Regions from separate parts of the Homo sapiens genome. Here region 1 is linked to region 2. The links are contacts of gene promoters, found by promoter capture Hi-C in human tissues and cell types (Jung and others, 2019). All regions are on one chromosome and are shown on one strand. Each heading gives the region's core, a stretch centred on a gene start or on the middle of the fragment in contact. The rest is flanking DNA. Distances are from core to core; before and after follow the strand shown.

The links. The method cuts DNA at HindIII sites, captures the fragments that hold promoters and counts their contacts. A contact is called where the count stands out against the background at its distance.
Region 1: a fragment that was not itself captured here is called in contact with the fragment with the promoter of MTHFSD in region 2 in 2 of the 25 tissues and cell types used here (mesendoderm cells and thymus).

Annotation. Positions count from the first base shown.
Region 1 is chr16:86,618,371-86,622,155 of GRCh38, forward strand. No RefSeq gene overlaps it. Among named protein-coding and RNA genes, the nearest start is that of FOXL1, 42 kb to the left of the region's middle. RefSeq lists an enhancer at 3,251-3,772. The HindIII fragment of the contact is 6,319 bases long and covers 1-3,785 here.
Region 2 is chr16:86,553,660-86,557,546 of GRCh38, forward strand. It overlaps MTHFSD (methenyltetrahydrofolate synthetase domain containing), which reads right to left and starts at 1,576. Exons shown (of 8, transcript NM_001159377.2): 1 at 1,510-1,576; 2 at 986-1,092. The coding sequence starts at 1,525. It overlaps FLJ30679 (a long non-coding RNA gene), which reads left to right and starts at 1,661. Exons shown (of 1, transcript NR_026674.1): 1 at 1,661-3,640. RefSeq lists enhancers at 1-510, 1,479-1,528, 1,569-1,858 and a silencer at 1,433-1,646. The HindIII fragment of the contact is 6,717 bases long and covers 1-3,719 here.

The DNA.
Region 1 (3,785 bases), core at 312-2,811, 65 kb after region 2:
ATTAAGTCCACAAGTCTTCCCTTCCTGCCCCAACCCCAACTGCCTGCAGGTGGAGTGACTTTCTATCCCTTGAACTGGGACAGAAGTGGTGTACATGTTTCCCAGCTGAGCCTTTAGGGGACCTGTCCTTCTGGCCTCTGCCCCGAGAACAACATGCCCTGGGTGGCACTGCCCTTCAGCCTGGGTTTCAGAAAGAGATCCTGAACCTCAGGGAGCAAACTTGACCTTGACTTTGACCCACAGCCCAGGATCCAACCTGGCACAACTGAGCCCAGTAGAGATCAGCCAGGCCGCAGCCGCCCTTTTGTGTATTGTGAGCACAAAATACAATACCTTTTGTTAAGCCACTGTGATGAGGGCGGGACGGTATGTGGCGTGATTGCCGCAAAAATCAGACTAACACACCATCTTCAGGTGGAGCCTATGCCCCTTTGAAAGCTTTCTCTGAGATTCGGCCTGTATACAGTTGCAGACTGGGCTGAGTTTTAAAACGTTGCCAAGCTTGATAAGCAAACCCTGTCCAGCCGTCTGAGAGCCTCCCCTTGCCATCTTGGCAGCCTCTGCTCCAGCTGGGGACTCGTCCCATGATTCAAAAATGAAAGGTTCATGCTTGGTTCAGTAGGGTGTGTCCAAGGGGCCCTGCAGGACAGGACAGCGCTGGCGGGTCCACCCTTGCTGGTTGGTGCCTGTGCTATAGTGGCTGTGGAGCATTTGGGATCTCTTCCCTGGCAGATGTGAAGAGGAAAGTGAAAGTAGATGTGAAGTGCTCAGCACAGCCGCTGGTGTATGGGGAGCCTTCCTAAGTGTCAGCGATCACGGTTGCTGTCTGCAACATAAAGTGGTCTGCTTGCCAGCACCACATCCTTCTGACTTGGCTTTGCCCTCTGTGCGCAACTGCGTGCGTGGTTCCCTAAATGATGTGAGGTGATGTGAAAACTCTACCTGTCCCCAAATACCTCCCTCACGGAGCTGCCCCCATGCCTGAATCCCGCCATTCCCGCCGTTCTCTTGGAGCAGGGCGCTGGCTCCCAGAGGCTCCTATTGAAGCTCAGGTATGAATCTGAGGTAGGAGGTAGGAGGTGGGACTCGACTGTGGAGGCGGGGCTTGGACACTGAACCAGACTGAGGACTGGCTAAAACAGGGTGGGGTGGAAGCAGCTCTCCATAAGCCACGCCCATCAGTGTGCCCAGTCAGTGGGCGTGGGCGTTACCACTCCTTTCCACGGAAATGACTCCGACGACCCAGATGTTACTACCTTTTCCCTAGAAATTTCTGCATAAACCGCCCCTGCATCTGCATGCAATTAAAAGTAGGTATCAATATGACTGCCGGACTGCCGGGAGCTGCTGCTCTCAGCACACTGCCTAAGGGTTAGCCCAGCTCTGCGGGAGCAGCCACGGAGCTGTCGCGCTGCCTGAGCTGCAATGGTGCCGCTTCAGTCAAGCTGTTTTCTTCCACCACCAGCCCACCCTTGAATTCTTTCCTGGGTGAAGCAAAAGCCCTGGTTAAGCCCCAATCTGGGGTTCGCCCACCCTGCATCAAATCCATAGAAGCTCGAGGGAGCAGGCATTGGACTAGAAGTTCTACTGGCCAAGGGGCAGCTGGAGCTGTGTCAGTGGGTCCCTGGAGCACTGGGGAGGACTCAAGCCTGGGTGCATGTAGCAGGGACACCTGGGGTTCTGCTGCACCCCAAAGGGGCGGCATTAACTGAAGGAGAATCTTGCTCTCAACAGAGGGCAGGTGTGGCAGACACCATTTGCTGGCCACCCAACACCATCCCTCGTCTTCCTCCAGGCTCCTTGCATCCTCTCAGTTTCCTGCCATAAAGACTGCAGGTCAAACAAGGGCCTCCCCAGCCCCACTTGCAGTCACAAGTGGCTGCATGAGCTGATGCTGGCTCATAACACAAGGCAGAAGTCTTCTGGAGGAACTTCTGGGAAGCTTTGTGTTCTTTATAAAACATCACCCCCATCCTTCTTATCTTGATGTGGATGTGATGTCTGGAGCTGCAGCAGTCACCTTGTGCCATGAGGAATGGCCAAGAAAGCAGCAGAGACGTGGACTCTGTTGTTAACCTGCTGAACCACTGGCCATGACTTTGGCACATGTGAGAAGATAAACCTGATTTTTAAAGCCATTGTGGCTGGGTTGTCTATTATGTTCAGCCAAACACACTCCTAATGGATACAGCTGGTTAAATAAGTGATGAGTTATCCATACAGTGGAATACAGCAGAGCCATGAAAGAGGGTGATATTGCTGTATGTTTTTAATACCATGAAAAAGTTATGATGACATGTTAAGTGGGGAAAAAACAAGTTCCAAAAGAGCATTTCTATAAATCCATTCTCTACTTATAAGAACACACACATCCATACTCACACTTATGTTTGTGATTTTCTATTTGTTAAGAAAGAGAATCTGCAAGTGTAAACATCAACATTTTATGTGTGGTGGGATCTAAAGACCTCTTTTATTTTGTTCTCTGGTATTCTGGGCTTTCTGAATTCCCTGAAATGCATGTGTACTACTTTTGTAATCAGAAAACACCAAAGCTGTGAGGAACACAGTGGGGAAGAGGTGTTTCGAGGGTGAAGGAACCACCGAGAGCAAGCTGGTCTCACTCCCAGATAGGCTGAAAGATGGGGCAGCTGATGCTGACTTTTTTTTTTTTTTTGGACGGAGTTTTGCTCTTGTCGCCCAGACTGGAGTGCAACGGTGCAATCTTGGCTCACTGCAACATTCGCCTCCTGGGTTCAAGCGATTCTCCTGCCTCAGCCTCCTGAGTAGCTGGGACTACAAGTGCCTGCAGCCATGCCTGGCTACTTTTTGTATTTTTAGTAGAGATGGGGTTTCACCATGTTGGGCAGGCTGGTTTCGAGCTCCTGACCTCAAGTGATCCACCTGCCTCAGGCTCCCAAAGTGCTGGGATTATAGGCATGAGCCACTGCACCCGGCCTGCCATTGATTTTTCTCCTCTCTTTACTCTCTTAGAATGCTGTGCACACTCTTCTGCCCCTACAGCTCCCTAAAGGGCCAGCCTGTGCACCCTTCGGAGCCCCCATCAGATGGGAGCTGCTAGGTCATTGTGGCACCAATGGCTGGTGCCGTCTTAAGGACTGGACATCTTCCTTCCTCTTTCCCTTTCTCCTACCCTTCCATCTCTTCTTTATTTCTTCTTCCATCTCTCTCTGCTTTTTCCTCTTCCTCCTTCCATCCCTGCCCCACACCCCTCACAGCCTTCCTGAGAACCAGCTGCGAAGCCCTTAATCTGCAGCCGGAGGACACAGACCAGGTCCTGCCCCACGGAGCTCCGAGCCTGGGAGGAGTCACTGAGCACGGTGACCCTATGTGGTGTGTAGACGGAGGGCACAGGATCCACGCGATGCAGAACAGACCAGGCCTTGAGTTTGTAAAGGGTCTGGCCACTGGCGCTGGCGTCCACCATCATCTCAGAGCCTCTCTGCGGCAAGCATGGACTAGCAACAGGGCTGTTAACCTTTTCCCTGTGACCCAAACCCCAGCACGGTCTGCTTGAGTGTGTGTCTTCCTGCCTTGCTGCTGGGACCGGTGCTCTGGTCTGATTCTCTCATTTACTCAGGAGGGGGTCTCTGTGGGATGTTCCCCTCTTCTTCTGGGCTCCGTTCTCTTGTCACTGAATCCTCTGTCACCAAGGGCCTCAGGAACTTTGTCCAAATCTCGCCACCTCTGGCTTCTGCTCCCTTGCCGCCGGGCTGGGCCCTGCCCACCTGCTGGAGCTCCGGCCCCTGACGGCCACCTGCTGC
Region 2 (3,887 bases), core at 326-2,825:
AGCTAGAGCCTCCCCGAGGAGCGACGCTCCTGCTCCACGGTGCCTGGTGCCATCCACTGCCCAACGGCTGAGGAGTGCGGGTGCACTGCACGGGACTGGCAGGCAGCTCCACCTGCAGCCCCAGTGCGGGATCTGCTGGGTGAAGTCAGCTGGGCTCCTGAGGCTGGTGGGGACTTGGAGAATCTTTATGTCTAGCTAAGGGATTGTAAACACACCAATCAGCACCCTGTGTCTAGCTCAGAGTTTGTGAATGCACCAATGGGCACTCTGTATGTAGCTAATCTAGTGGGGAGGTGGAGAACTTTTGTGTCTAGCTCAGGGATTGTAAACGCACCAATCAGCATCCTGTCAAAACGGACCAATCGGCTCTCTGTAAAATGGACCAATCAGCAGGATGTGGGTGGGGCCAGATAAGAGATTAAAAGCAGGCTGCCTGAACCAGCAGCAACAACCCTCTCCAATCCCCTTCCACATTGTGGAAGGTTTGTTCTTTGCAATAAATCTTGCTGCTGCTCATTCTTTGAGTCCACCCTGCCTTTGTGAGCTGCAACACTCTCTGCTAAGGTCTGCAGCTTCACTCCTGAAGCCAGCAAAGACCGTGAACCCACCAGAAGGAAGAAACTCTGAACACATCCAAACATCAGAAGGAACAAACTCCAGACACGCTGCCTTTAAAAACTGTAACACTCACTGCGAGGCTTCATTCTTGAAGTCAGTGAGACCAAGAACCCACCAATTCTGGACACAACCTCACCTAGAGACAACCAAACCACCCTGCACAGAGACGCAAGAGGCCCCAGGTGAAGAGTAAATGACGTCTCTAAATGCTAAGGACGCCCTGGCCAAATGGCTTTGATTTCACACCACTGCTCACTGCTCGCCACATTCTCATCCACCATGACGCAGTAAGAGAATTTTATTACTAGTGTTATTCATTTAAGAATATTTTGTTTTCCTTTTCTGGACTCCAGAAATATGTCAGTACCTTAAAGTTGGGTATCCTGTGATGAACAGGTCGGGGAAAGTCAGCTAAATTTTGTGATTCCATGTAGCCCCAAATTTGTTCACGTATGTCCTGTTTGGAGACACCTACTGCAACAAAAGATTCCCACTTAATAACATACAAAGGAATTCCAGAGCCCATGCTGAAACCGCTTAACAGTAGTTAAGCGACCCCCGCGTGTAGGTCAAACCGGCTTCCGATCCTGTTCCTGAGCCTCAGTTTCCCCGACCTCAAGGGGCCCACGGGCTCCCCCACGTGCACGGCAGGTGTCCCTCCCGCCTCGTCTTCTCGTTATCTTTATTTTTCCTGACATCTTTCTCGGGATTCCGGGCGAGAGAGCCGCTGGTTCGACCCGAACCCAGCACAGACCCCCTCTGACCTCCTCGGCCGCTTCCGGTGATTCTGCCCCATCCTCTGCCAGCCCCGGTGGCCCCGCCTCGACCCTCACCGGTCCCGGCTGTCCCTCCCCATTCCCAGCCGCCCCGGAGCCCCGCCAGGCCCCCCACCTGCCCTCGGCTCCATGGTGATGCAGTCGCTGTGCGACGCTTCCCGGCGCAGGTTCTGGCGCGTAGTGACGTCACCCGCTCCGCGCCTGCGCGATGGTAGGAGGGGCGGAGGCTGAGCGGGCGAGGCCCAGGCGCGCATGCTCGGGCGGGTAAAATCCGCGCCGGGGACAGTCAGGGATGCTCCCAGGCCCTTCGCTCTTGCTTTCAGCTAGTCATTGTCGAGCGCCGCCCGTGACAGGCGTTTTGCCAAGCCCTGGAGTTACTGAAGTGAACAAGTCCCTGGTCTCTCGGGACCCATTGCCGGTTGAAACACATCCCGCCTCCTCTTCCAGTCCTAGAGGCCGCCTCCTCCGGAAAGCCGGCCTTGATTGCTCCTCATGTAGGACGCGGTTCCCTCCTCTGAGATCCTGCAGACTCTCAGGTGCTCACACGTGGGTGTGCAGCGGATTCAGCCGGCAGCTCTTTAAAGCGGCAGGCAGATGGAAATTCGAGGCCAGCCCAGCCCCGGCGACTGCGCTGCGGACGGCCAGAGGCCATCCTTTGAGAAACACCCGTGGATTCTTACCCTGACCTCTGCATACCCTGAGAAAGAACGAACGTGGCAGCCTGCGTCTGCTTGTCTATGTCTTTCATGTTTGCTAACCTAAGGGTCGAGAAGCGGCTCGAGGAGACCAGGCTGCACAGACCGTCACGTCCATTCCCTCTCTGGCCCCAGCCCCGCGGGAAGAAAACGAGGGCGTTCAGCCTGGCAGTTCATTCACTTATTAGGAAGAAGACATCCCACACCCCCACCCAGCACACACACAGATGTCAGGGACCAGCCACTAGGAACCACTCCCTGAGCGAATGAAGGCATCCCCGTAGCCACGTGCCTGGTACATCACAAGCACTCAAAACGTGGCTGCCACCTTTCGAAATTGCATGCCCAAAACTTTATGAGATCCTCACAACACACTTGGGAAACAGACAAAAGAGTTTGAATGCCCGCCTACTTAACAGATACAGAAAATGGTGTTCCGTGTACAAGCGACTTACTCATGTCTGCTGGTAACTCATAATGTGCCGTTTGACCTCCTTAGGACATAATTAATAATGGTAATTAACAGTGCTACGATATGCCAGGCATTGAGCTTAGCGCCTTAAAAGTCATAGCTAACTATGTTTCACAGCAAACCCTCAGAGGCAAATGTGACCCGCCTCCTACGCAGGAGGCAACAGAGGCTCAGACATGTTAAAGAAGCTTGGCCTGAGTCTCCCAGCAGAGAAAGGGCAGAGCGTGTAGCCCTGACAACGTGCTTAATTGCAACTCCTGTGGGTCCCATCACAACTCTCTCTTCCTATGTGGTGTCCGCAACATTAATACATAGAGACACCGAGGAGCCTCAGTTCTGCTTGTGGGCGGGCCTGTCTTTCACCAGGCTGGCAAAAGCAGTGCAAACATCATTTTGGAGGTGATAAAATAAAATCTCTCACAGAGGTTGGATGTCCTTTCCGCCTTTCATGGAAGCACAGTAGATCTGCAGAGTGTTTTATGCAAGTAGACTTGGTGCCAGTAGTGGAAGTGTGTGCAGGATTCTGTTACCCAGCTGTGCTCAAAACAGAGCCCAAGTCTCTCCGATGGTCAGCCTGGCACGGCCCCCAGATGGTAACGAGACGCCAGGGACAATCTGCCAGTGGCAATTTTAGAAAGCAGGTGGTGCTAGGAAGGGCATTCTCTTCAGTTCCATGTTTTCAAGTTAGAAGTGCCTCAGAGCATTTACCCCCAGCTCCTTGAGGGGGTGAGGCAGAGGATCACTTGAGCCCAGGAGTTTGAGGCTGCAGTGAACTATAATGGCACCACTGTACTCCACTTGGGCGACACAGCCAGAACTCCTCTTTGAAAAACATAATAATAAATAAAAATAATAAATAGTAGTAATAAGAGACCCCTTAGAAAAAATCAACTGGCTCTTTTATGAAAGGAAGATGCTTTCAGAATGAATAGCTAATGCATGTGGGGTTTAATACCTAGGTGATGGGTTGACAGGAGCAGCAAACCACCATGGCACACATTTACTACCTATGTAACAAACCTGCACATCCTGCACATGTATCCTGGAACTTAAAATAAAATTTTAAAAAAAGAAGATGCTATTGAACCTTAACTCAAATACTTAAAACTCAATCATATGTGTAAATTTGCATTTGGGCACTTCAGGATTTTTTTTTGTTTTGGTAGATTTTATCATTTAGAAAAGTTTTGGTTTGGCCAAGAGTGGTGGTTCACACCTGTAATCCCAGCACTTTGGGAGGCTGAGGTGGGCAGATCAATTGAGGTCAGGAGTTTGTGACCAGCCTGGACAACATGGTGAAATCCCATCTCTACTAAAAATACAAAA